Linked DNA regions of Homo sapiens: regions 1, 2, 4, 5 and 6 are each linked to region 3. The links are contacts of gene promoters, found by promoter capture Hi-C in blood cells and fetal thymus (Javierre and others, 2016). All regions are on one chromosome and are shown on one strand. Each heading gives the region's core, a stretch centred on a gene start or on the middle of the fragment in contact. The rest is flanking DNA. Distances are from core to core; before and after follow the strand shown. Region 1 has its middle 65 kb from the start of LINC01061. Region 2 overlaps LOC102723967 (a long non-coding RNA gene). Region 3 holds the start of ARLN (allregulin). Region 4 holds the start of MYOZ2 (myozenin 2). Region 5 has its middle 48 kb from the start of MYOZ2. Region 6 has its middle 66 kb from the start of MYOZ2.

Region 1 (5,191 bases), core at 638-3,137, 170 kb after region 3:
ACAGGCACACCATGCCTAACTAATTTTTGTATTTGTAGTACAGACGGGATTTTGCCATGTTGGCCAGGCTGGTCTTGAACTTGCAACCTCAGGTGATCTGCCCACTTCGGCCTCCCAAAGTGCTGGGATCACAGGTGTGAGCCACTGTGCCTGGCCAAGATAAACATACCTTAAGAAAATTTTTAAAAATAATTATTAATATAAAAAACCATGATGAACAAGATACCAAAAATTTAAATACAAGATTGTGCAGGAAATACTTATGGAGTTCAGTGACTATCTTGAAATGTAGTACATACAACCATCATCACTGTTCCTTCACAGTACATTTATTTTTCCACTGAAATAATCCTCACAAAATTCTCTCAATTACCATAATCTTACATATCTATGTTGTGGGTATTAGAACTTAATATCAGTCACCATCCTTGAAATTTAGGCTCTCTGGTCCAACGTTTCACTTTGAAATGTATTTTGTATATTGTTGTATCAGTCAAAATTTCCAATTTAAATTATAGTTATCCATCCATCCATCCATCCATCCATCCATCTGTCCATTTATTTATTGGGTTTGTGTATGAAGGAGAAAAAATAGAATCTTCAAATGCTAATGATTAATCCATTTTAACGACTATAAAATGGAAATGTGTACAGTTACAAAGGCATACTAAGTTGGTCTGCCTCATCAAATAGGCCTGGGCAAAAATTGGTAGGTAAAATTAAAGGGAATCACAGTGCATTTTACTCTCATGATCTCTGTTAGAAATGTCCCACTAAACATGTTACGTTACCAACTCTTCTATTATGCCCTCATCTCTACCTCTATAGATTTAGCCTTTGTGAGCTATTCTGAAACAGCTTATTCCACAGCTTCTGGTCAATTTTTAGACAATGTAAATAGAGATCCACCTTCAGATATAGACTGGTGAGTCTGGTCTTGTTCAGAGAACAATTAAGGACCTTCAAGCTAGTGAATTGTCAATTCCTTTGTAAAAAGTGTTTTATTAACCTTCAGCTACCTTGGAGGTAGTTGTTGACAGAGCATTATATTAAAACTTGTATTAAAGAATACAGATATGCATTGTATTAGAGGCTTTAGGACTTTTTTCAAAACGAACCTTGAAAAACTTCTTCAATTTTTTTTTTTTAAAAGCTGTTCTATTAAAGGGATAATATAGTGAATAAATATTTGTTGTCTGTTTAACTTACCTTATGTAGAGCTATTGGCTCTAAGGATTTTGAAAGGACAACAATAATTCTCTAAAAATAATTCAGGCACCTTTGGCCATTTGTGTAACCAGGTACAAATTACCACGTTTCCCAGTTTCCCCCTTGAGTCCAACTGTAATGTATTGTTCTGTAAAGTATAGTCCAGTTGTCAGCTCTGTTTGCCTTGGTCAATTGAATGATCCTCCTCCTTAAGCTTAGCCTATAGTGCATTTGGCTTAATAAATGAAACTGTAACATGCCAGCCACACAATAGAGGATTTTATAGAACTGTTTCTGCTTGGAATACTATAATTGGAATTTGAGTTAACTATAATTAAAAAAGCTTTCATAGCCCATGGTATATGAACTCTGAAACCCCAAATACCAAAATCCTACTATATAAAAATGATCCACATACTAAAAAAAAAAAAAAAAAACCAGACACACAAATCGAGTTTAATTTCGTATCATGCTATTTTCCTAAAATATAGTTTCTAAAGTTATTGCAAATTAGTTCCTGCTGCTTGGTAAAATACCATATTTAAACTTAATTACAACTGCCTTCCTGCAATGAAGGGCCAACTTTTTCAAATAATGTGTTACAGCCCAGTGACTCTAGGGAGTCTATGGTCCCATTGCTGCAAATGAGCAGATCGGTGAAAACAAAAACATATTAAGAAGTCCACATTTCTAACAAACACCTTGCAAAGAATAAAATGGTAATTTAAGGAATATGTCCACTTAATATACATTTCATGTATATAGGACACATAATACAATAAATACCCTTTTTACTACCCCCAATTTAAGAAGTAGACTAGTATAATAGAAGGCATATCTCCTTGGTACTCAGTATTTCTAAAAGGCAGTAATGGCTGTCTCCTCTAAGCACCTGAGATGATATGCCTCTGTGCACTCTAGCCTTAGAAATATGCTTATCTCCTGCAGGCAGAGCATGCTGGAAGTGCCAGGGAGTTAAGGTTACCAGGAACAGCCCTCAACTAATAATGAGGAAAAGCTTGTGGATAAATATCCAAGCCCCCTGCCTTCAGGTAGGAACACTGATATTTTATTAGATTGGTGCAAAAATAATTGCGGTTATATAGTCTCAAAGAGGAAACAGTCTCCACGTGAAATCGAGCCCCAGTTGTCCACAGTAATAACCCGCTTATTAACTTAGCCTATATGGATTTACTTTCTTCTCATCTGTCTTCTCTGCTTTCGCAGGGAAATAAGTAGTTCACTAGTGTTTCCTGTGATAACCTCCTGAATAAACTACTTATGCTCAAATCCTTATGTTGGGGTTTTCTTCTGGAGGAATTGCCAAACTGTTGAAGTTCCCTGTGTTCATCCCCAATCTCAGCTCTGTCCGTCTCCCCACCAAGAGTTACTGTTTTGATTTTTTGTGTTTCTTGTTCCTTTCCTGTTTGTAATAATTATACTAATATATTAAAAATATTAGTAACTACACTGGTTTGCTATAATAAGGTATATCTTCCCCCAGAATATAAAGTCCTTGGAGACTTTCCCTAAAGAGTCTAGACCTTGACCATTATGCGCTTCCCAAGCTGTGGCTGCTGCATTTCACATTTTCTTTCAAAATTGGGCAAGGAATTACTAAAAGATGCTCCAGTAGATCATCTGGGTACCAAACATATTTCTTTCTGTACCCAGTGTAGAATAGCAACCCTACTTTTTTATGATGCTCTGGGTCAGTTACTCTTGCCAGGATAGTGACTTCTTTCCTTGGTCTCTCAGCACACAGACCCCAAAGTGACTGTGTAGCAGCCACAGCTTAAGTTTAATGGAATTTCTGCTGTGTCTGCTGAAGGAAGCATTTCCTTTAAAAAATAGGATTTCTAACTCACAGAGCCCAGAGTTGAGGGAGCGAGAAGTGATGGCAAAAGGACAATTTCTGCTGTTACCCTTTAGTTTCCAGATCCATGTATTTGGTCTGTTGAAGACAGACTACCATATAATGATTAGTAATAGGTGTATACTTCATCTTGGAGGATGCAGCCCTACCCTTGAAGTATATCAGCTCCAATCTTGTTCTTCAGCTGTCCCTTCAAAAGGCCAGCTTCTGGGCTATGTGGCAGGTTATAAATCCAGTGGATCTTATGATCATGTACCCAGGGGTGTACTGCTTTTGCTCTGAGTTCTTTGGTCTGATGTGATGTCACACAGGATTCCATAACAATGGATCAAACACTCTGTAGCCCCCAGATGCTGAGGCTTTGCCAGCAGGAAAGGCAAAACCATACCCTCAAAATGTGTCTGTTCCAGTCAAGCTTAATTGCAACCCCTTCTAGGGTAGGACAGGCTGAAAATAATCAACAGGCCAGAGATCTCCTCCAGGGATGATGTTATTAGGAGCTCATCGTTGGTCTCATTTGGACATTTGACAGAGGCAGCACTGTATCAGCTTGGAGTGGGAATCCACGGACCCATGCATAGCCTTCATCCCTCTATCATGACTGTTTATTCGTGTGACTTAGTTTTGTCCCAGACTGAAACTCTAACAGTCTAGATAAGAACCTGTCTTTCATAATATGAGTTGGATCCCTATTCCATACTACCCCTAGGCCTGCCTTGATGCATGTCTGGACTGATAAATTATTTTCTTTATTAATTTATTTATTGAGACAGGTTCTCACTCTGTCACCCAGGCTGAGTGCAGTGATCATGGCTCACTGCAATCTCTGCCTTCTAGGCTGAGGCAATACTCCACCTCAGTCCCAAGTAGCTGGAACTATAGGCACGTGCCACCATGCCAGCCTAATTTTTTATTTTTTGTAAAGACAGGGTCTTGTTCTGTTGCCCAGGCTGGTCTCAAACTCCTGGGCTCAAACAGTCCTCCCACTTCGGCCTCCCAAAGTGCTGAGATTACAAATGTGAGCCATCAGGCCTGGCCTTATTTCTTTAAATTTAATCTGCCTACAATTTTAAAAAATTATGCATTCTTGACAAAATTGTATTTAGGCATTTTTTTAAACAAATATTTATTTCTCCTTCATTAGCAAGATAAACACTGTTAATTTATAGCTTTTCCTATAAATTTCATTTCTCCTATTCTTTGGAATAATCCCACAATCATTAAGCCTTGTTTCTGACATGGAGAGATGAGGGCAGATTTTTTTTTTCCTTTTTTAGATTTGTTGTGTTAATTAAATCTTATGGTGCTATAACATGCAGTGGTTAAAAGGGTTGGAGAAATCACCTTGTTCAAATTATAGTAGAAAATTTATAGCTAATTGAATGACCTGAGGCCGGTTACTTGACCTCTTTGGCCTCCAGTTTTATCATATCTAAAGGACAATAATGTATATCTCAGAGGGTTTTTGCAGAGATTGAAAATGTATGAAATGCCTAACACAGTAGCATATACCTGGTTTGGTTATTTCTGGTTACAAAACCAAGCCTCACAGTGTGTAACCAAATGGGAATTCCATTTCTATTAGAGCATACTTTCATTTTGAGAGCCTTGATAGGCCAGGGGAGACAGGAAAGTCAAAGTTTTGAAATTTTCTTTCACCAGTGACTCCCATAGACTTGATTATGGTCAGAGTGTCATACAAATCTAGGCTATACACAGACATGTTTCCAAGCTAAAGTGATAAGATGTCTAAAAGAAATATTTCTTAGTCTGTGTTGAATTAATGCTGCAGAAGGTCATGGGTGAGTGAATTACTTTCAGAAGGGAGGAAGCAATAGCAATAGTGAGCAAACTGTGTATGAGGAGACCCTATGAAGCAAGGGCATTCTGTATTGAATATTGCAACTCAAGGACCAATTCAAGGTTCCTTCTTGGGAACTTTTATAGAGAGACACAGACCATAAAAGAAGGGTACAGAAATTAAGATGTTGAGAGAAACAATACTACCATGCCAGTTTACATGCAAAGAGCTACTTCTGTCTTTTGGTTCAGATGGGAACTATGGGAATGAAAGCTGCTAGTGTTTTGTGGAATCTTTTCCAGAAT
Region 2 (5,120 bases), core at 23-2,522, 200 kb before region 3:
GAGACAGAATTAAACTGACTACAGTTACCCTCTTGGTCTTTTTCTGTTTTCTACTCTCTGAAGACAATAAATATAATAACTATCATGGGCAGATAAGAACACCACAGCAGAAAATGATTTTTAGAGGAGGTGAGAGATGTCATTGGAGTGGGGGTGGGAGTACATTCCAAGAGTGACTAGTAGAGGGAGCAACCACTTTGACGAATATCATATGACCTGAGCATAAGAACGAAAATCACATTGCTGGACTGAGGGCCTGTATTCTGATGTGCAATGACTGTCATTATGTAAGGAAAGTAGGAAGTGATCAGAAGAATTTAGAAAATCTTATTAAAAGTTGAAATTATATTTAATAAGCAATATTGCTGATCCATGGGGCCCCTGTAAGGTTCTGTGAAGGGGAAGCGAAAGAAGATACTTAAGAAAGATAAAGCTTCCTATTAGTATTGGCTGTATTAAAAGACACCAACAAAGTGGTCTGTTGTTCCAGTCCAACTGGGGTCATCGCTGGCTTGTCTCAAGAAAGATATCAAAGTATAAGTCAACAAGGCTAATTTTATGTAATCACAGCTCACAGAAAAAAATTGTGATGGAAACAACTACTATACAGAAATTATATGGTAGATAGAATTAGGAATAGACAGAGAAAAACAAAGTTGACAAAAGAATCATCAATGTATAATGTAGAATTAATTTCAAAGCTCTAAAGCCCTGCAAATAAAAACATGTTTCATGAGAAATGAACTCTAGAAATCATTCATGTCCAGACAACAGTGATACCTGTGTGAGTCAGAACTAACCGTGCCTATCCTGAAATACTACATTATACCAAGTGAATGGGTAATGGTTGTAAGCTATGTTTCAAAACAAGAGGGCAGTGGGGCACATTGTCCCCATTCCTTATACCCACACCTCAACTCATGACTACCTGAAGTTCAAAGACTTCGTCCTTCAGGAACAATAAACTTTGTTTGTTTTTTGAGATGGAGTCTGGCTCTGCCACCCAGGCTGGAGTGCAGTGGCGCAATCTCGGCTCACTGCAACCTCCGCCTCCCAGGTTCAAGCGATTCTCCTGCCTCAGCCTCCTGAGTAGCTGGGATTACAGGCGCCCACCACCATGCCCAGTTAATTTTTACAATAAACTCTTAGGGCAAAATTTGTTCAAAGAAATTAGCAATCAACATGTAATCTTCGCTTTTAGATTTAACATCTCAAAATAAAACTCTGAGGCTTATATGCCAACCATCAAAACAAATCCTCATTCAAGTTGATGTATCTCGGAGCAGAGTGGTGGTCACACTCAAGGGCAAACCCATCTGGCCTTCACAAAAAGCCCATAGTTTTGAAAAGGCATCAATAAAGAAGGGGCAGATGGAGCTGCCAGCGCACACCACACTTGTATCCAGGAAGTTCCTTGCTCTCTTTTTGGCTGAGTAAATGACTCACTGTTGTAATCTTGAGTAAGTCACTTAAATTCCAAGCATTCAACTTCCTTCCATCCACTAACAATGACCTAATACTAAACATGCTTGAAAAATGATGTAAGACCATTTCCTCTCCATTACCAGCAGCTAAGAGTAACAGATGACTAAGGAAAAAAAAAAAAAGGAATGATCCATAAAGCAAAAGTAATTCACCCTTTATTATAAAACCACTCCCACTAAGTTAGGAGTATTTTTCCTAGGAATGTTTTTGAGCTATTTCAACATGGGTACTGGGATAGCTAATTCAAGAGCTAGGGTTCAGCTTTTTTCACAAAAACAGATTTTCAAACTATGATCTGTTGTCTAGGTGAGAACGAGTGTGCCAGTGTCTTTTAAAAAGTGTTTTATACTGTGTGTCCATGAACTTGTATCCTAATCTTCTAGTTTAATTCAAAAATGCTCACCAAATATAATAAAAGTTTATAGCTTTAGTTCAGAAGCAAATAGTAATTAGAAAGAATGAAGGCTTTAGCCAGTTCACTTTTGTACAATATAAAATGCAGATTAAATTTTTTTTTTTCAAAAAAACCCACAAAGGAAAAACTATAATATGGGGGTTAGGTATGTAGATTTAGCCAACACACCTAGCTTCAAATCTTGGGTCTGTTTACTAGCTCTAGGTTGAGGGAAAGCTTCTTAATTGCTCTAAGTTTTAGACTTTTCATTTGCAAAATGTGGATAGTAATGCCTGATCCATGCATATTGCTGTGAACATTAAGCAAGAAAAAATATACATATAAAAGTTATGCATAAGGTATATATGTAGCAATTAATGCAGTCTGATGCATAATTAATAATTGGGTTTTATAAGTGAGGAAAAAGTTGACCTGTGTAATACAGTAGTTTAATTTTATTCATTTAGTTTTCAGCTATTCAGAGCCTTTATTAAGTTCTTCTTTAGAAAGAAGTAATTTCTCAAATTCTTCAAAATCATCCACCAGGTTTAGAGCAGACATTACACACAATGTTTTGCTTCTCTTTGGTGACCAATGTGACTTCTACAACAAATTCTATTTCTTATCTCTGTGTTATTTCAGATATTTAAGTAATTTAATATTTCAAATATTACTTAAAACTTCCAGTTATTCTTGGGGATTATTTGCATGTCAGACATCAACATGTAGATCATTGCTTTGTTAAGTAGTATCTTGAAATCTAACTGTTTAGCAAAGTAGAAAGACCATAGGAAAAATAGTAATAAAAAAACAGAGGGAATAATCCTTCCCTTCCTCAGCCCTAGAGTATAAATGATTAAGCATCATAATTGCAGGGTTCTTTATGCTTTATACAGTAAAAATAACAGAGAACAAGGGTAACAAACACAGTTCCCTGTGAGCCAGTGGCATGCTTCCCTGCCTACCACATGTCCTAAGCCAAGACTTGAGAAACAGGTGACTTGGCAAAGAAAAAGAAATAGCATATACTCATAGAAAGCCCATAAACCAGAGCAGATATGTAACTTGAAAACCCAACCAAGGGCCTACTACCCTTTTATTGGTTGTGCCTCTTGCCTCTATTGCCTTGTATTACCTCTGTTGGTAGCGATCGAGGCTGTGAACATGGTAAGGAAAAAAAGAAAGACTGCTAAAACTGGCTTGGCACTGAATCCCGTCACACAGCATTACAGGTCTGTGAGCACACAAGCAGAATTTGACTTGCCCTTTTACATATCTTCACTATAACCTTGTCACTTTCTTAACTGAATTTACGGATCTCAGGTTGGTTTTGTCTTTACTATTCTTTACTGAATATTTACATCAAATGGGTGTTTGTTGCTGTCATTATTTTTATTGCTGTTTTGCCAGTTTGTTCAATGAAAATGGCCATAGCCAAATGGCCAAGAATAACTATGCAGAAATATTGCTTGTCATAAATTATATATCCTAATAATATGATAATGATATGCAACTGTTGAGTGCATTATATAACCTCTTATAAATGAATTTCTTCACTTTCAATTTGAATAGAGTTAAAAACTTATCAATTACAAAGTTGTTATGAAGAAGATAATCAGAATTACCCAGCTTGAAGAAAGTCATTTAATTCAGTGTCTTATTTCTATGCAAAAAGCCTCACAACTTATTAAAGACAAAGTTTATATTAAATTACATATAATATACACATTGCACGTATATAAACACACAAATACTTTCGCAGTGGAAATCTACTCTTAAATACTGTTATTTAGGAATAAAGAGTTAAGGTCAAGGATTCTATAATATTGAAATAACCAAAATGTTCTATGAAACAAATAGATGAATTAGAGAAAGATTTTGAAAGAGGTTGGAATAGATTATGCAATAGTAGCTTATGTGTGTATTCAGAAAAATGAAAAACCATTTCCTGTCATTCAGGAAGAAGGGGTCATCTTATTCTAGTGCATAAAGTGAGCAAAGGATGTAGTTAAACCAAAGTGAACTGGCTATATTTCTAAAATTAGCTCTTCTATGAGACCATCAAAATCCATGTTTGAAAAAAAATCCTTCATATTTTCACTTATTTTGCTTTGATTACTCAAAGAAAGAAAAGCTGGTATCTGAGATCTAAAAGCAGATAAAAAACAAATTCCAAATGTTCAAATCTGAGCAACTTAATTCCAAACTTAGCTAATCCTGAGTCTACCTGGACATTTGCCCTTTTTAATTTTATTTTTTTTAACCAGAAATACTGGTCTAGAATAATCAGGAAGCATAAATCATGAGAGCCAAGAGGGAAAGCCAGAAATTTGCAGCTGGCACAACTGATCTGGTCTTGTCAGTATAAATGACCATGACATGTTGATTCCAGTAGGACCTGAGGCCCCCAGAGTAGAGGTGTGATGGAAATTGTGCTTTGGTGGAAATAGCATGGAAACTCAGGTAAGAGAATTCACTTGAATTCAGTTTCTGCCTCTTTCCAGTTGTGTTAGTCATGACTCCTGAAGGAAGTTGCAGAAATCCAACCAGAACTAGCCTAGGCATAGGAAAATGAGACATTTATTGGCTCAGGAAAGCAAACTGGCAGAAGGACAAAAATACAGTTGTCACCAAGGACAACTGGCCCCAGGGTAGGAATGCTGCTGGGTTCCTCTCTTTCATTGCCATTTTTGTCCGTATGTCAGCTTCCTTCTCTAGGACCAGAGTTCTCAAGGTACCTATCACAACAACTTTCAGTGGCCCCTGCCTCCCCTGTGAACAACTTCCCAACCAGCAAAGAGGAGTCTCTCCCTACATCAAAGTCCTCCATCCTTCTCCTCCTAGTGAAAACATGAGGAAAGATTCCAAATGACTAGACTCTCCTCTTGCATTCAAGTCCTGGGTCAGGAGGGTTGCCGTAATTAGTCCAGCTTCTGTCAGATGGCCACTCTGAGGTCAGTCAGTGTAGCCCAGGAGATTAAGGTCACATAACATGAGGCGGTTTCCAGTCAGTCCAAATGCTGGAGGTTGGGATTGGGGAGCAGTTTCCTACAACAAAGGGGTTATCACAGATAATATTTCTGTGAGCAAGGCAGCCCCGGTGATTTGACTCTGCTATAGTAGCTGCTGGCCTGAGGCCAAGTTACTTTAACCTCCTTAGTTTCCTAAAGTATACAATTGGTAAATTGTAATATTTAACTCAGAATTATTGTGAGGAGTTATTAAATTAATACATGATAAA
Region 3 (4,580 bases), core at 441-2,940:
CTGTATTTGAGATTATCAGTCTCTACCAAAACAGGGAGGGAGAGTAAAACTCTCCCTTTACAAATGGCTTGACAGAGAATTTTATAGAAATCCCTATCCCTTTTGCCATCCTCCCATTAATCCCTCTCGCTCCCCTGCCACCCCTTTTTTTGAGACAGGGTTTGCTTTGTCTCCCAGACTGGAGTATAGTGGCACGTTCACAGCTCACTGAAGCCTCGACCTCCCCAGCTCAAGCAATCCTCCTATTTCAGCTTCCCAAGTAGCTGGGACTACAGGCGTGAGCCACTGTGCCTGGCCCTCTCTGTCTTCTCTAACTTACTACACCATCCAAGAAATGAGACAGTGAGGCTTAAGACACCCAAATCTTGGTGAAAATATAGGATGGGGGTTGGGGGTGTAGAAGAAGTGACTGCCTATCAAGAAGTGAGAATTTCAGAAGTAACTCATAGGCATGGTGACTAAGGAGTTAACAGTGAGTGAACAATCAACTCCAAAGTCCAGGAGAGCTGTCTAGATGGGCTACACTGCTCTTCTCCCATAGGAGCCCTGTTTCATCTCACTGCTTCTCCTTAGCTTGTCTCTTAACACCATCTCCATTTGGTGTCTGCTTCCTCCTGCCCTATTCTCTTAAGTTCCCTTCCTTTACCCTCTGCCAGAATTGTCTTTTCAGAGCGAGTGGCGATGAAAATGGAGAGCATGGGTTTTACAAGTAAACTCTACAGAATTTTGTAACTTGGTGTTTTAGGATATGTGGATGTGTGTAAGAAAAGGGCAAAGTGTCTCAGGTTTCTGGGAGGTAACGGTGGATAAAGTTGGCGTTTACTGAAATGGTAACGCTGCAAGGCAAGTAAATTTGGGTAAGAAGCTGTTAAGAGTTCAGTTTTGGACATGTTTAGTTTGAGACAGCTGCGTGGTCTGCTCATGGTTAAACAGCTGTATAGTAAAAATAGCTTTCGTTGAGCACTTACTACTGCCAGGCAACATGCAAATCACTACGATCTCAATCTTCACTACACCCCTATGACCTGGGTTACTAATGGTCCCAAATGGCAGATGAAAAAATAAAGCTCCAAAAGGCGAAATAACTTCTCCGGTCGCTTCATGGTGCTGCAGGAACTCAAGCCTAGCTGGTTTCATTCCAAATCATGAGAAAATATGACGCCAAGTTTTCTCCACACTTCTTTGGAGACTCCCACGGACGTGCTAAAGAAGGACATTTTACTCCTAGTCCTTCTCCCCCACCCACCCGACTGCGCCACTCACCAGCTGTGTGATCTTGGACATATATAAACTCTCTGGAATTCAGTCCCCTCCCCGCCCAAAAGCGAGCAAATGATCTCTAAGCTCCTTACCACCCCAATTTTGCATTCGAGATACTCACCATGGCAAAAAATACACAAAGAGAAACACCACCACATCGAAAAGGATGAAAAGCCAGAGGTCCAACCAGTAGGAGTGTTTGGGAAGCCCATTTGCCCCAGACTGAGGCCTCACATCGAAGTTCTGCCTCCCTCCCTCGCTAAAGCCTCGCCGCTCCCGGAGACCATCTCGACCATCAACACCCGGTGCGTCCACCTCCATCTCGCTCCTGCAGCTTCGTAACAACCCTAGAAACCGAAAATGCTTAAGTTCCCGGACTTTGGTGTTCGCCGCACCGGAAACTGAGCGGAGTCCGGCCGCCTGCGCAGTGCGCCGCGCCCCGGGTTCCGGAATGCACTCTGAACCTACTCTTCCCAGCGCGCAGGCGCCTGGCTCGGCTTTCCGCTGCCTCCGTGACCGCTGGCATGAAGCGCGGCCTCCGCCTTGACACTAAGTCAATGGGCCCGCCTACTTCTGCCTCGCGGCGTCCCAGGCAGATAGCTGGTTATTCAGGTTTCGTTGGAAGAAATACGTTCTCGTCCCCCTGAAAGGCCCAGTCCAGTCAGGTGATGGACTCCTCCCTGAAACTGCACGAGGTCACCTCTCCTATCCCCGTATTCCGTTTGGATCCTTATGCCAACGTGTTAGGAAGGCCCCCTCTGGTGGGTTTTGTACTGTCTCTAGCATTTGACACTTAATATTTAAACACCACCAATGAGGTGGACGTCCTACTCACGGGACTGAGTTTCCAAACGGGCCAGAGAGCAGCACGTGAGCATTTTGCAGGTACTTCAAGGGAGTGGGTTTAAGAATAACCTGGCCGCGCCCCCCTGTAATCCCAGCACTTTGAGAGGCCGAGGCGGGCGGATCACCTGAGGTAAGGAGTTCGAGACCAGCCTGGCCAACATGCTGAAATCCCGTCTCTACTAAAAAAAAAAAAAAAAAAAAAAAAATCCAAAAATTAGCCGGGCGTGGTGGCAGGCGCCTGTAATCCCAGTTACTCGGGAGGCTGAGGCAGGAGAATCGCTTGAACCCGGGAGGCGGAGGTTGCAGTGAGCTGAGATCGTGCCACTATTGCACTCCAGCCTGGGCAACAGAGCGAGACTCCATCTGGGGGGAAATGGGGGTGGGAAGAATAACCCAAAGGTTATTTGACTTTGAGTGTGAGCCTCAGCAAGAACAGAATGCTAGCAGGAAGAAAATGACCTATACTGCCTGGATTTTACCTCGTGGGTCCAATTTCAAATATTCTCTTTCTTGTCACATTATGATTCCTGAATTGTTCAGAAAATAACGGGCACCCAGACATATAAGTGGTTCTCTTGGTGCATAGTAAATGGAGATAAGACTGTAGTTGTGTTTTTACAAAGTCATTAAATCGTCGTAAAACCTCTTTGAAGGGGCAGTACTCCATCTTATAGAATTAGGAAATGAGACACAAAAGGAGTGAATTGTCTAAGGTTACTAAAAAAATTATAAAGCCTAAAATTAACTCCAAATCCAGCACTCTTAAAGCTGTTCCATAGCTTCCTAACCTTGCTCCAATTTGCCTCCAAATCAATTGCCAGGTTTTAGAGACAAAGATAGTATACGACCTTTCAAGAAAAATGCTTTGTAGATTCTGGGATGAGAGGGCCATTACCTGAGAATTAATTAGATTGTGTGCTGTAATACAGATTGTCTGATGGTAGTAGACAAAAAGACCCTGGGCTTAAGTGGCATTGAATCTTTACAAAAATTAGGAAAGGCAAATAAACAATTGCCTCTACCAGAGATGGAAGCATTCTTCTCGCTGACAAGGTAGGATCAATTACTCCTAGTTATTGAAGTAGGATTGATAAAAAATTATTGAGATTATTAGTGTTGAAGAAGCATGACATAAACTGAACAGGTCTTGAAATGGTTTTAAACTTGTCTTTGGCCCAGAGTCACATGCTCATCATGAGGGGATGTTGACAGTATGATCTGTTCTAGAGTCAGGAACGTCTGCCAGACTTGGAAGAGCAACTAGTGCAAATAAGGAGGGGTTATTTAAACTAAATTCAGTTGAAAGATTCTATTTCCGACTTTACCCTTGTAAAAGTCCCACTGATTGTTGATTATTCCACATTACAGAAATGAGTTTAGAGTGTGTTATGGCTGATTTTGAACTACTGGCCTCAAGTGATCCTTCTGCCTCGACTTCCCAAAGTACTGGGATTACAGGCATGAGCCACCTTGCTCAGTTGGCATTTGCCATTATCAAAGCAATTTAAATTTTAAAAAGTACTGTACTGAAATCCAGGTTCACTGTCAGTCATGCAATACCTCGGCACTTGTCCAACCACCTTGAACTTTCTACTTCACATGTTCAACTGAAAAATATGCACCAGGGACTACAGATTGAATCATTGCACTGCAACCATGATCCAACACTTCCATAATTCTGTCAGCACAATTAATCTGATTGAGCTGGGGTGGAGAAGGTGGTGTATGAAAATGCTATAACCATCAGGCCAAAGACAGCTAAGTGTTTTTAAGAAGACGTTACAGATCTTCTGAACTTCAAGTGCAATAAGTTTTCAGGAGGGAGATGATGATGAATTTTGCTTTAACCTAAGGGATAATGCAAATTTTTCGTATGCAGCTCTCAAGCCAGTATATCCATGTGATAAAGCATCCTCATGATCATCCTAGGAATTAAATTAATTTTATAGAATAACCTCTCCAACAGTGGAGAATTTGGTTACTGTAATTTTCATCTGGAAATATATGTGTTTATCTTAAATTATTCTTTCTCATCTTAACTTTGTCTTTTCCTCCTTTTCAAGTTGAGTACCTGTCCTAGCAACAACCCTGTTGATTGGTACCACAGGTTATTTCTCCATCTTCTGGGTCATTTTATTTATTCATTTTGTTGTTATTGTTCTCTTCAATTCTTTTTTTTTTTTTTTTTTTGGAGACGGAGTCTTGCTCTGTCGCCCAGGCTGGAGTGCAATGGTGCGATCTTGGCTCACTGCAACCTCCACCTCATGGGGTCAAGCGATTCTCCCTGCCTCAGCCTCCTGAGTAGCTGGGATTTCAGGCGTCTGCCAGCACGCCTGGCTAATTTTTGTATTTTTAGTAGAGACAGAGTTTCGCCATGTTGGCCAGGCTGGTCTTGAACTCCTGACCTCAGGTGATCCGCCCGCCTCGGCCTGCCAAAGTGCTGGGATTGCAGGCATGAGCCACTGCACCCAGGC
Region 4 (4,645 bases), core at 1,393-3,892, 160 kb before region 3:
TTAAATTTTTACTAAGTATAAGGAATTTCTAAATTGTCCCATGTAAAATGTCCATGACTTTATGTGATAGATACTGTAATCACCATTTTACAGATGAGAAAACAGAGTTTAAAAGACTTGTCTAATAGCATACTATGGTAAAGGCTACAGCCAGGAACATACGGGCACTCAAGGGATTTTGAGAGGGAATTTAAATTTATTTGCTTTGGCAAAATTGTTTCTCATTTGATACCTAATTATACTTTCAATGCAAATGGTTTGTTTAGAAACAATTGCAATAGGTTAGCTAGATTAGCTTAAACCTGCTATCTACAACCTTTAGCTTTCTCTTTTTTTTTTTTTTTAAACAAGGTCTGGTCTTGCCCGGGCTGGAGTGCGGTGGCTTGATCATGGATTACTGCAAACTCTACCTCCTGGACTCAAGCAATCTTCCCACCCCAGCCTTTGGAGTAGCTGAGATTATAGGTGCATGCCACTCACCTGGCTAATTTTTGGGTTTTTTGTTTTTGTTTTTGCTTTTTTGGTAGAGGCAGAGTTTTGCTAGCTGGCCTAGGCTGGTCTCAAACTCCTGGGCTCAAGCGATCCACCCACCTTGGCCTCCCAAAGTGCTGTGATTTACAACCTTAAACTTTCAATCCTATGATCAGGCACCAAAATGTATAACCGATTTCAATCTTATAAAATACAATTCCTCCCACAAATAGCCACCACCTTTGTACATTCAAGCGACTGTTCATTTGAATTCCAAACTCATGCCAAACCTTTAATGCATTCTGCAGTTAATCTCCAACCTACTCATTTATTCATTCATTCAATGAATATTGAGTGCTTACCATATGCCAGATACAATTCCAACTGCTGAAGATACAAAGCCCAAGCCATTATAGGATTCATAGTTTAGTAGAAAAAAGAGATATCACATAAATAGATGCAACCTCTACCTCCTGGACTCAAGCAATCTTCCCACCCCAGCCTTCAGAGTAGCTGGGATTACAGGTGCTAGTAAAACTGTTGAGGACGCCATTTCAACCTTTAGAATTGTACATAACATAAACTTTTGCTAGATAGATAGATAGATAGATAGATAGATAGATAGATAGATAGATAGATAGATAGAATAATGTTGGCATGTTCTTAGTGAAAAAACTGAGTTGTCACTCAGCAACAATTATTTCTTTGTTAGTAAGTTATGTATGAATTTTAATTGGGCTCATGACCACCTAGAATAGAAGCTACACTTCCCAACCTTTCTTGAGTTATGTACGGCTATATGGCTAAGTTCTGCCCAATGGGATGTAAACAGAAGTATGAACAAAATATCAGACATGTTCTGAAAAGAAGACAGTGTTCCCTTCTCATTTTTTTTTCTTTTTCCTGCTGGTTGAAATATATGCATGCTGACTGGAGCTGGGGCAGCCAATTAGGCCCAAGGGGTCTGCATTTTAGGGATAGTGGAGCAAAAAGTTAGAGGGTAACTGAGCCCTTGATAATTATGTCAGTCATGCAAACCCTCAATTACTTACTTCTAGACTAAGCTTACCTGTGAGAGAAACATCTTCCATCTTTTTACAGTTCTGTTTTGGGGGGGTTTCTGTCACTCCCATTTGACTTTTATCTTAACTAATAGAAAAATATAAAGAAAATGAAGCAGAGTAAGGGACTAGAGAGTGGCACAGTGTGATATTTTAGACAAGGTGATAAGGGAAGGATTTTATGAGGGATTGTTATCTGAGCAGAGTCCTGAATGCATGACTGTGCCATGTGAGTAGAGGGAAAGTATGGAAGGGGGAAATAGTAAAAGGAATACAGTATCTATTTTCATTTTGGAAACCAAAATTAACATAATGATTATCTGTTGAGGACACCATTTCAACCAGGGAAAGGGGGAAATAGTAAAAGGAAAGGGGGAAACAGTAAAAGGAAAAGCCCAGAGATGAGAGCACGTTTTTGTGTCCAGGGACCATCAAGGAGGCCAAACCTTTTGACAGGCAAACCTTTCAAATCTTGTCAGGCCTGCAAATGAAAATCCTTGACCCTAGACATTGTAAAGACTGGTCAACTTTGCAGGGACTGGTCTCTGTAGGCCCTTCAAAAAGCATGACCCAGTTATGAGTCTCAGCTTTTACCCAGCTTCATGGCTTATCCTCTAATGGTTCATTTCAAAATGCTTCCTGAGTTCACTATTCAAATACTACATACTTTTCTCAACCTAGCATGAGTTCTCACTACAGCTTAAGAACTGGCTCTATTGATCCACCCCACATTACTTCCTTTCTTCTTGAGTCTACATAGATATTACTGCCTATATTGTTCATTTTAATTATGAAAAATCTATCATTCTGTTCTGATTCATGCATGTGTCTCTTGCCACCTCAATTAACATGTAACATAAGAGCTAGATGTTTAAAAGTGTTTAAAATCCCTTTTGGCTACTATCTGTTCAACAGAAAGTGCTCACTAAAAACTTTCTGCATGTCCAATGAACGTTTCATTTAACCATCTCACAAACTAGAAACACAATGGAGAGAGCCTAATCTTTCCCTGTTCCTCCCTTTCGCCAGGAAGATATGAGTAGCTAAAGTATTTGGTGCTATATATAGCCAGTTGATGTCAGCTGAATGCCAGTCTCTTCAGAAAAGCTCAGTCCCCAGTTTGAGTCAGAGTAGGGACCATGCTGTCCCAGGTTCAAGGATAAAAACCATCAGGCCCAAGTGCCATCCATAGTCCATCTCCAGAGTCTTCCTCCACAAACTGGGATTCATCCCCGCTGAAAAAGCACAATCTAACAGCAAGGTGAGTATGTTGTTTCCTAAAATGTTTCATTAGTCAGTTGTCCAAGGATATTCAGAGTTGTGACTCATAAATGGGCATTCTCTGCTTTAAAGGGCAGCTGTTGCCAATATTAAAATGCTACCACCAAAGAATTCTGGTTTAGTCTAGTGTCTTCTTCATTCTTACAGTTTGCTGGAATTGATGGAGTGTGATGCTGGTACAAATGAAGGCCAGTGAGGAGACAATGACAGACTAAAATACTGTGGAGAAAAGAGAGGGAGGGGAAAGGAGACCAGCAATTTCATTGTTTCTCACTGCCTGATGATCATTGTATTAATGTCCAGACTGGGTCTCTGTTCACTGTGACATTGCCTGTCAATGAATAACATACTCTGTCACCAGATAAGGAATGCGTATTGAAGTCTTTCAGTAGCAAGCGATAATAACTTTTTAATAAAGAACAAAGATGTTGTCTTTCAAAACAGTGATTATAAGACACTCCAAATGAGTTCTTCACATTGCCTCAATAATGTCCCTTTGTTTTTAACAGGGAACAAAAAAACCATGCTATCACATAATACTATGATGAAGCAGAGAAAACAGCAAGCAACAGCCATCATGAAGGAAGTCCATGGAAATGGTATCAATAAAAATCCTTCGTAGCATTAATATAGCACAGCATGAATGTGGCTCCATCCTGACGTTGTTTAATATTCCATAGTTTACTTCCTTTAGATTCTTGCTGTTCTGTCATAACAAACCTGGAGCTCTAGGGGGTGTAGAAAAGCCTATGGTAACTAATCCTTTTGTAGTCATCCTTTCTCATTTGGAAGCTATTTTCAGAGGAACAACTGCTGTAAAAGGCATGAAGCAATCTGACAGCTGATGTACATTCTGCTTGGCTTGCCTTCCACATTATAAGTTAAGATCACTCTCGATTCTTTTTTTTTTCTGGACAAGTCTCATACAATCTTGTCTTTATTGTCCATCCCACATGGTTTAGCTTGATTTCTTTTACCTTACATTATATAAATCACTCAAAATAAGTTCTATCATCTTTTTTATCAAGCTATTAAGTTGGAATTCATATTTATTGCTTATTATTTAACTCCATTTCTATTGCTTATTTATTTAACCCTTCATATTTGTTAATTGATTTACTAACATATTTTGTGTGCAAAGTCTACTTTTATTTGTAACTTCTGAGAAAATATAAAGTTATTGTAGTCTCAAAGCATATGACTCAAAAAAATTTTAATATATATTACGTGCAAGGTAATATTTCACTCTCTCCTTTTCTTTAAATTCTAGCAACTAACTTGAGAAAGCAATGCTTTATAACTTGCATTTTGATTCTTATAAAGGAAATTCAACTTTGTTTATAAGCAACGTATAGCATCAGTTTTAAATGTTAAGAAAAATATTCAGGTCCTCTTAGGAGCTGATTTGAGCCATTCCAGATATATTAGTGGCATTTTCAGAATGCCTCCTTATTTCCCCTGTATTGACAAGGAATGCAGCCTTTCACCACTACAATATTGAGACCTAGAAGCTTGAGACCCGGGAAGAGTATTGAGCATAATGTTTTCATATTACACCTTCCATAAAGCAAGAGGAACAGAATCAAAGACTTTTAGATGCTCCCCACGCAATGTAATCATAACTAAGAGGTCCGTTGTTGTTTTCTATTTTCTGCAATACAGAACCACTGTACTGGATTCAACTTGGTTCTCATGTTTTACTGTAATGTCAAATTAGCTTGGAATAAAATGAGAATAATTCTGAGTCAGATACCAGAACTGAATTCATACCAATCCAAAGTTCCAAAATTCATGCCTTATTTAAAATTTCATGCATCTTTGTGTTTCCAGAT
Region 5 (4,674 bases), core at 597-3,096, 210 kb before region 3:
ACTCAGAAACAGAAAGTCAAATACCGCATGTTCTCACTCCCAAGTGGGAGCTAACTAATAGGTACACGTGGACATAAAGAGTGGAATAATAGACATTGGAGACAGAAGGGTGGGAGAGTGTGTGAGAGGTGAAGGATGAAAAATTACTTGCTGGATACAATGTACACTATTTGGGTGAGGGTTAAGCCCAGATCTCATTGCTATGTAATATATCCACGTAACAAAACGACATCTGTATCTTCTAAATATATTTTTAAAATTTAAAAATAAAAATAGCCCATCGATGTCTCCCTGCCTCCAATTTTATTCTTTTTTCTATAATAATTATATTTCTGAAACTTAGATCTGTTAATGTTGAACCACTTAAACTCTCAAAATTGTTTCCTTTTCCTTCCTGAAAAGCCCAGTACCGCCTTATCAAGCACAAGTCTATCTATCTATCTTCCCAGCTCCCCTTTGAACCACTACTCCAACCAGCCAATCTATTTCCCCAATCCTACTGTTTATGTTTCCTTCTTTATATGTTTGAGCATGCTCTTCTGTCTAAAGTATTCTTCTCTTTTCCCAGCTTGTGACCCTATTCATCCATCAAGAAGCAACTCAAGGGCCAGGTGCAGTGGCTGACACCTGTAATCCCAGCCCTTTGGGAGCCTGAGGCAGGTGGATCACATGAAGCCAGGAGTTCAAGACCAGCCTGGCCAACAGGGTGAAGCCCTGCCTCTAACAAAAATACAAACACTGGCTGGGCATGGTGATGCACACCTGTGATCCCAGCTACTCAAGAGGCTGAGGCAAGAGAGTTGCTCAAACCCAGGAGGCAGAGGTTGTAGTGAGCCAAGATCATGCCACTGCACTCCAGCCTGGGTGACAGAGCAAGATTCTGTCTCAAAAATAAATAAATAAATAAATAAAATTTAAAAAGCAACTCAAATATCACTCATTAAAGTATTTCATTCTTTAAGCAGTTAGTCACTCCCTCCTCTGCATTTCCATAACACTTCATTTCTAGTCAATGTTAGAGATGACGACTTGCTCACCTTTTATTTTTCAACACCTAAAGAATACGTGAATGACTTATAGGAGGTCCATAATACATGCTTATCGAATAGATGAATAAACTGAGAGTGCTATGGTTTCTTGATCTCCAAACCAATTTTGCCACAATAGACTTCATTCAGTCTTTTAGTTCTTCCAACAAATATTTATTATGTTTATATTTTGTGCCAGGTACTCTGTTAGTCAAAAGGGTAACAGTGGTGAAAAGGTAGATAAGGTTTCTGCCCTCATGGAGGTGCTTGTAGCAAGAAATACAGATAATAAAAATAACAAATAAATAATAAGTTCCAGGAAAGTAATAAGCAGTGGATAAAAGAGAGAGTAAATAACAAAGGCCATCTTAGAAACAGCAATGGGAAAGAAACCCTTCTCCAAGCACTTAATATTTTAACTAAGATCTCAAGGCTAATATGCTCAGCCTTGTAAGGAGTTGAGGAAGAATATTTCAGGCAGAGAGAACAGCAAGTCTTGTCGACAAGAAAGAGTTTGCTGTGGACAAGAAACAGAAAGGCTCACGTGACCATGGCCCTAGCAGTTGATGGTGAAAAATTTGGCAACAAAAGCTTTGAGAAGTAGGCAAACTCACAGCTCTTGAGTGGCTTGGCATGCTTTGTAGGTTATAAGCAATTTGAATTTTGTCTTAAAAGCACTGGGATGTCAGAGGCTTCCTAGCTGGAAGTAAACTGCTTTGATCTATGCATTTAAAAATTGGGGCAATGAATTAAAGAAGGTCAAGCACCAGTTAGGAAGCTCCTGCAGAAGTCCAGGCAAACAGTGGTTAATGTGGAGTAATCAGAGATGGAACAAACACAGAGTTTAATCAAATTTGAGAGCTAGACTCAGTAGGCCTTGGAAATATATCTGGTGTGGGCTGTGGAAGAAACGGAGATGTTACCGTTGACGTTTAGATTTTTATAATTTGAACCATTAGATGGATGGCATACTTTTTACTGAGATGAGAATGACCAAGATAAGAAATACATTTAGGAAGGACTTAATCAATTAAGTATGGACATTTTAAGCTTTAATTGTGGAAAACCACTGCTACAGTAAAAGAACCACTAGATGGCAATAATAATAGTTAATTATTGGGAGTGCCTACCATGTGTCAGACTTTTCTTACATATTAACTTCTTTAATCCCCGCAGTCATTCTATAAGGAAGTTACTACTGTAAACTCCATTTTACAGATAAGGAAAGTAAGGTACAGAATTGTCACCTTACCTCCCCAAGAGCTCACATTTGTATTAATAAGTGGAAGATTCAGGATTCAAATCCAGGCAGTCTGACTCCAGATCCTGGCCTTGTAATCTGTGTACCACAAAAAATTAATAATTTGGTGCCAGGACAGTTATTGGACACTTCTCATTCATATATAAAACCAACAGGAAGCAAACATAGCTCTCCACACATTATATGACTGAACTTACTAAGCATTGGCTTTCATAAACGCCGATTCTGTGGCTGAAAGATCACTTTTCTTAACATTGATGCCATCACAGAACCACATTATGTACTGGGCTCCAAGTAGACAGCAAATAATATAATAAAGTCTGCTCTGCCTAAATATATATTGCTCCGCAGCGACTTGTCCCAGGGGAATTTTGATAGCTATTTAGCTCTCTTGCCTGGGGGCAATCACCTGCAGAAACCCACTTAATCCACAGTTATCACATCAGAAATGATGGATTGACTGTATAACGAAGCAGGCACTGGGATAGACATGGGAACTACAACTCTCTGCCTTCATAGAGCTTCCAAGTAGTGAAGGAGACAAAAAAGGTAAATGAAATAGCAAAATAAACAGTGATATGTGCTGAATGTAGTACACATCCCAGGGGCACCCAGTCCTTTACAGAGAAAGTTATGTTTGAGCTGAGACCTGAAAAGGAAGGCAGGACTTAACCTAGAGGCAGCCCAATATTTAATTGCTACAGAAGAAACTTACAAAGCACTTTGGAAGTGGCACAGGAGCTTTTGTACCATTTGACATGGAAAGCTGGTGTCCCAAACTCCCAAAGGTGCAAATATCGAAATTGCCTTCACCTATTCTTGGTGTCAGTGCTCCATCTCCAACCCCTGCTTTCCTTTTTTTTTTAACTTTTAAGTTCAGAGGGTACAAGTGCAACTTTGTTACATAGGTAAACTTTGTCATGGGGGTTTGTTGTACAGATTATTTCATCACCCAGGTATTAAACCTAGTACCCATTAGTTATTTTTCCTGATCCTCTCCCTCCTCCCTCCCATCACCCTCTGACAGGTCCCAGTGTGTGTTGTTCCCCTCTCTGTGTTCATGTATTCTCATCATTTAGCTCCTACTTATAAGTGAGAACACGGGGTGTTTGGTTTTCTGTTCCTGTGTTAGTTTGCTAAGGAAAATGGCCTCCAGCTGCATCCATGTCCCTGCAAAAGACATGATCTCATTCCTTTGTATGGCTGCATAGTATTCCATGGTGTATATGTACCATGTTTTCTTTATCCAATCTGTCATCAACGGGCATTTAGGTTGCCCATTGCCCATCAATGGGCATTAGGTTGCTCCTTAATTTTTTGGAGTAGTTTCAGTAGCAATGGTACCATGCCTTTGCTATTGTGAGTAGTGCTGCAATGAACATACACATGCATGTGTCTTTATAATAGAATGATTTATATTCCTTTGGGTATATACCAAGTAATAGGATTGCTGGGTAGAATGGTATTTTTGTCTTTAGGTCTTTGAGAAATTGCCACACTGTCTTCCACAATGGCTGAACTAATTTACACTCCCACCAACAGTGTATAGGCATTCTTTTTTTCTACAACCTCACTAGCATCTGTTATTTTTTGACTTTTTAGTAATAGCCATTCTGACTGGTGTGAGATGGTGTCTCATTGTAGTTTTGATTTGCACTTCTCTAATGATCAGTGATGTTGAGCTTTTCTTCATACGATTGTTGGCTGCATGTATGTCTTCTTCTGAAAAGTGTTCATGTCCTTTGCCATTTTTTAGTGGGGTTGTTTGTTTTTTTGTAAATTTGTTTAAGTTCCTTGTAGGTGCTGAATATTAGACCTTTGTCAGATGCATATTTTGCAAAAATTTTCTCCCATTCTGTAGATTGTCTTTTTACTCTGTTGATAGTTTCTTTTGCTTTTCAGAAGCTCTTTAATTTAATTAGATCAAACTTGTCAATTTTTGCTTTTGTTGCAATTGCTTTTGGCATCTTCATCATGAAATCTTTGCCTGTGCCTATGTCCTGAAAAGTATTGCCTAGGTTGTCTTCCAGGGTTTTTATAGTATTAGGTTTTATGTTTAAGTCTTTAATCCACCTTGATTTAATTTTTGTATGTGGTATAAGGATGGGGTCCAGTTTCAATCTTCTACATATGGCTAGCTAGTTATCCCAGCACCATTTATTGAATGGGGAATCTTTTCCCCATTGCTTGTTTTTGTCAGGTTTGTCAAAGATCAGATAGGTGTAGGTGTGTGGCTTTATTGTTGTGTTCTCTATTCTGTTCCATTGGTCTATGTATCTCTGTTTTTGTACCTGTACCGTGCTGTTTTGGTTACTGTAGCCCTGTAGTATAGTTTGACCAGGTAGTGTGATATCTCCAGCTTTGTTCTTTTTGTTTAGGATTGCC
Region 6 (4,480 bases), core at 655-3,154, 230 kb before region 3:
TTCCTCGGGAAGTTTTGTCTCAGAGAAGTACCCGGCCGGCCGTGTGAGGTGTCAGTCTGCCCCTACTCGGGGGTGCCTCCCAGTCAGGCTGCTCGGGGGTCAGGGGTCAGGGACCCACTTGAGGAGGCAGTCTGCCCGTTCTCAGATCTCCGGCTGCATGCTGGGAGAACCACTGCTCTCTTCAAAGCTGTCAGATAGGGACATTTAAGTCTGCAGAGGTTACTGCTGTCTTTTTGTTTGTCTGTGCCCTGCCCCCAGAGGTGGAGCCTACAGAGGCAGGCAGGCCTCCTTGAGCTGTGGTGGGCTCCACCCAGTTCGAGCTTCCCTGCTGCTTTGTTTACCTAAGCAAGCCTGGGCAATGGCAGGCGCCCCTCCCCCAGACTCACTGCCGCCTTGCAGTTTGATCTCAGACTGCTGTGCTAGCAATCAGCGAGACTCCGTGGGCGTAGGACCCTCCCAGCCAGGTGTGGGATATAGTCTCCTGGTGTGCCTTTTTTTAAGCCGGTCAGAAAAGTGCAGTATTAGGGTGAGAGTGACCCGATTTTCCAGGTGCCGTCTGTGGCCCCTTTCTTTGACTAGGAAAGGGAACTCCCTGATCCCTTGCACTTCCCGAGTGAGGTAATGCCTCGCCCTGCTTTGGCTGGCACACGGTGCGCTGCACCCACTGTCCTGTGCCCACTGTCTGGCACTCCCTAGTGAGATGAACTCGGTACCTCAGATGGAAATGCAGAAATCACCCGTCTTCTGCGTTGCTCACGCTGGGAGCTGTAGACCAGAGCTGTTCCCATTCGGCCATCTTGGCTCCACCTATCACATATGTGTCAAAAAATATTTTTTTAAAGGCTGGTACTTGAAAACTTTACTTTAAGAATGAGGCTGGGTGCGTGGCTCACACCTGTAATTCTAGCACTTTGGGAGGCCGAGGTGGGTGGATCACTTGAGGTCAGGAATTCAAGACCAGCCTGGCCAACATGGTGAAACCCCCTCTCTATTAAAAACATAAAAATTAGCCAGGCATGGTGGTGTGCACCTGTAATCCCAGCTATTCAGGAGGCTGAGGCACAAAAATCACTTGAACCCAGGAGGTAGAGATTGCAGTGAACCAAGGTCGCACCACTGCCCTCCAGACTGCGGTAGAGTGAGATTCTGTTGAAAAAACAAAAGAAAAAGAACGAAGAGTGTTTTAAACATTTAAATGAGTTAAGAGTACTAGACTACCTTAAAATGCTAATGCTATATAAAGAGCCTGTTTTTTCTAAGGAATCCTAGTGCTTACTAAACAATAAACTTCAAAACATACTGAGAGGTAGGTGGTGTCATCTGCATACAGCGCCAACAGGCAGCCCGAGGCAAGGAGAGTTCAATTCCCTTGCTTGTCTCCCAGGAAGACAGCAACAGAAATACCTGAAGATTAGTCAGTGTTTCCCTAGTCCACATAATAACAGAAGCATTTAGCACAAAATGCTCCTTCTCTGCAATTTTGGAAAATCACAAGATCTGTGACTTCTCAAATTTAACAGAACAGTACTTACCATGAAGTGGCGTTTCATTTTTTATAGCCCTATAAAACATGACAGTTTATATTTTTAGAAAGGATCTGGCAATTTCCTCCCTCCCCCAATAAAAATCAAGTAATTTTATGAAGGGCATTTAAGGAGGAAATGCCTCCAATGTATCTTGCTCTGATACACTTTTTCTCTCTCTAAAGTTGTAGTAAAGATTTGCTATATTGTACTTTTCTTCTTCTTGACTTTTCTGTCCCCCTTCTCCATAAACTTTACTCCCACCACTGTCCAAGAGGAAAAAGCTTCACTGACTCCTCAAAATGTCACAGTTTATTTGTCTTACTGAGAGTCTGAAGAGGCTTTATAAAATAAGGCAGTATTGTCTCATCATGATCATTTGAATAAGCATGAGGTTTGCTCTAAATTACCAAACAAAGTATAACAGGTTATATGTAAGGAAAGGCACAATCTTATTTTAGGCTAAATTCCCCCTGAAGAAGCTTGTCTATAGTACTATGAACATATAGAGATAGAGATAGGATTTCCTGCTTAGTCTTTTCTTTCTTTCTTTTTTTTTTTTGGATGTGGGCAAACCTCATTTTAATTGCAAAAGACTTAATTTACAGCACATTCAATAATGAACCAACAGGAGAGTTGCTGACTTTGGAACATATGAATATATAAAAATTCCTTGCAATTCAGGTAGTCAAGATAAAAAGTGCATACAAGGAAAGCAATCCTCATTTTTCTGAAAATGTTTACATTTTAAAAGGTGAGTAGACATACTTGGAAGTTCAAAGCAGTAGGATGCAGGGAAAGGAAAACCCTTTTCCATGTTGTTAGGCAAAAGTATATCAAATATATCCCAATTCCACTGGATAAAGTCAGTTGGATGACCTCCTTGAACCAAGCTAGGGCAGAACACTTAGTAAAAGCGGGCCCTGGGTGGGGATGCAAATCCAGGAGAAGAGGGGCACCAGATCCCATGCAGTGCCAAACACATCCATTCCACCCTCTAACACATACGAGGCACATCGCCCCATGTCCCTGGACACAAGATCCACGAGAACAGTCAGCAGATGATCACTGCTCCCATGGCCTGGTGCTTTCTAATGGTCTTAATACAGGCCATGGAGAAAATCCTTTACTACCAAAGGCAAACTGTCATTGAACTTAAGTCATAAAGGATGTTGTGGGGGAAATTCTTGTAACACATACATAGGGACTTCTATTTACCTAATTAGAACAATGATTACACAATTGACATTCCTGTTTCCATAAGGTTTTGTTCTCTATGCTGGAATGGCTGAAGGAAAAGTTGTCTATTTTTGGTTTTATTTTACATTTTCAAAAGAGAGGGAACAGAGAGAAAAATGCCCAACTTTGGGGCCCAGCAGGTACAAAAGCAGACTTCCCTGACTCTAGATCCATCAGATTTGGGGGATGTTTCACTGCCTAGGGAAGGTTAGTGAAGCCCGTTATATCCCCAATCCTACAGGAAGAATTCTGCAGTTAATCTATCACAGTGTTCTAGCAAACCTGCTTAGCCTTTTCTCAGCATCACCTTTTCTAGAAAAAAATATTGATTTGGATACTTGAGCTATAAGTGTAATCTTCAGGGGTAGTTGTTCAACGCAGAGTGCGTGTGTCAGGAAGTAAAGGGCCATCCTTGGTACTGCCCCTGCCCCCACTTGGATGAAGCAATCATTGTTGAAACAACGTAGAAAACCAAATCACAGTATTCTGCAGAAGCTTTGCAGCACCTAGAGCTGATCCTCGACCTGTCAGGACTAGCCTCATTTTAAGAGGTTGGCTTGGTAGTTTTTCTTGTTGATCTACATGTCATTCATACCACAGCTTTCTGCCAGACCAGTACATAGGACAGAGAACAATAATAGTTTAAAAATAAATAAAAGGGGTATATTTTTTCCATAACTTTTTATTATTTGGACGTTTATGGCAATTAGATGCCTCTTTATCCTTGAATTCAAAAGTTCTCTCTCTCTGGTTTTATCTACAGTAACTATGGCTATGATAAGTAGCAATACAAAATGCCTATGATTTATTGAAGTTGATGCTTAATAAAAGGCTGATGAAAGGAAAAAGAATCCTAATTTTGTGATAAAACCACCAAAACTCAATGCCCAGCTAAGATAAACCCCATGTTCAGCATGAACTTGATAAAGAAAATCACAAAAAAGAGTGGCAGAAATTTCATGTCCGGCAGTGTTCTCTGGTTGTGATGTTTAAAATTTTCATATTTCGAATGAAACTCATCTGGTTCTTCTACAATACATTTGAATAAGCAATGTATCTGAATTTCTCATTTTGTATACAAAGGAAGACTGAGAAATGAATAAGAATTAACTGTTCAAGTTCCAAAATGCTATCATGTAGGAAAAAGCAGATTTTTAGGAACAGATAGGAACAGATTTTATAGATACTTTGCCCGAGGAGGTTGCAAACAAACAATACATTTAGCTTTCACTTTTTACAGTATGAATAAATATTTTTTCTCAAAAATAAGTCTTATATGAATTTGTAACATGTTCCTATTTTATCATTACTCTGCTATAGAATTGTCTTAGTCTGTTCCTGCTGCTATAACAGAATACCTCGATTATCTATGAAGAACAGAAATATGTTTTCTGAGTTCTGGAGTTGGAGTCCAAGATCAAGGCACTAGGAAACTTGGTATCTCACAAGAGCTGCACTCTGCTTCCAATATGGCACCTCTAGCTGCATCCACACATGGCAGAAAGAATGGAAGAGTTGAACTCACCTCTTCAAGCCTTCTTATAAAACACGAATCCCATCAATGAGGGTGAACCCTCATCACTTCCTAAGGCTAATCACTTCCTAAAGGCTCCACCTCTTAATATTGTTACATTGGGGATTAAGTTTCACATGAATTTTGGAGGGGACAAACTTCCAAATCAAAGCAATGGAACAATTTAAGAATTATTCTTAAAACA

Evidence for each region. Contacts are between HindIII fragments. The CHiCAGO score rates a contact against its expected background, and 5 or more counts as called.
Region 1: a contact is called between a fragment that was not itself captured here and the fragment with the promoter of ARLN in region 3, in 1 of 17 cell types (naive CD4 T cells). The highest score is 5.4, in naive CD4 T cells.
Region 2: a fragment that was not itself captured here is called in contact with the fragment with the promoter of ARLN in region 3 in 2 of 17 cell types (total CD4 T cells and monocytes); the score reaches 5.6 in total CD4 T cells.
Region 4: a contact is called between the fragment with the promoter of MYOZ2 here and the fragment with the promoter of ARLN in region 3, in 9 of 17 cell types (total CD4 T cells, non-activated CD4 T cells, activated CD4 T cells and 6 more). The highest score is 8.9, in total CD4 T cells.
Region 5: a fragment that was not itself captured here is called in contact with the fragment with the promoter of ARLN in region 3 in 2 of 17 cell types (M0 macrophages and M2 macrophages); the score reaches 6.2 in M0 macrophages.
Region 6: a contact is called between a fragment that was not itself captured here and the fragment with the promoter of ARLN in region 3, in 4 of 17 cell types (M1 macrophages, M2 macrophages, endothelial precursors and 1 more). The highest score is 8.0, in M1 macrophages.

The regions. Positions count from the first base shown.
Region 1 is chr4:119,472,925-119,478,115 of GRCh38, forward strand. It overlaps the pseudogene SEPTIN7P14. Among named protein-coding and RNA genes, the nearest start is that of LINC01061, 65 kb to the left of the region's middle. The HindIII fragment of the contact is 675 bases long and covers 1,551-2,225 here.
Region 2 is chr4:119,101,992-119,107,111 of GRCh38, forward strand. The region is part of intron 2 of LOC102723967 (a long non-coding RNA gene); the gene reads left to right. Among named protein-coding and RNA genes, the nearest start is that of MYOZ2, 31 kb to the right of the region's middle. RefSeq lists an enhancer at 1,343-1,637. The HindIII fragment of the contact is 1,683 bases long and covers 432-2,114 here.
Region 3 is chr4:119,298,955-119,303,534 of GRCh38, forward strand. It overlaps ARLN (allregulin), which reads right to left and starts at 1,691. Exons shown (of 2, transcript NM_001001701.4): 1 at 1,382-1,691. The coding sequence starts at 1,581. RefSeq lists enhancers at 1,285-1,334, 1,435-1,664. The HindIII fragment of the contact is 14,870 bases long and covers 1-4,580 here.
Region 4 is chr4:119,133,190-119,137,834 of GRCh38, forward strand. MYOZ2 (myozenin 2) reads left to right here and starts at 2,643. Exons shown (of 6, transcript NM_016599.5): 1 at 2,643-2,793; 2 at 3,323-3,412. The coding sequence starts at 3,337. LOC102723967 (a long non-coding RNA gene) reads left to right here. Exons shown (of 3, transcript XR_001741422.1): 3 at 1-365. The HindIII fragment of the contact is 2,789 bases long and covers 1,534-4,322 here.
Region 5 is chr4:119,085,176-119,089,849 of GRCh38, forward strand. No RefSeq gene overlaps it. Among named protein-coding and RNA genes, the nearest start is that of MYOZ2, 48 kb to the right of the region's middle. The HindIII fragment of the contact is 459 bases long and covers 1,618-2,076 here.
Region 6 is chr4:119,067,255-119,071,734 of GRCh38, forward strand. No RefSeq gene overlaps it. Among named protein-coding and RNA genes, the nearest start is that of MYOZ2, 66 kb to the right of the region's middle. RefSeq lists an enhancer at 760-1,576. The HindIII fragment of the contact is 198 bases long and covers 1,806-2,003 here.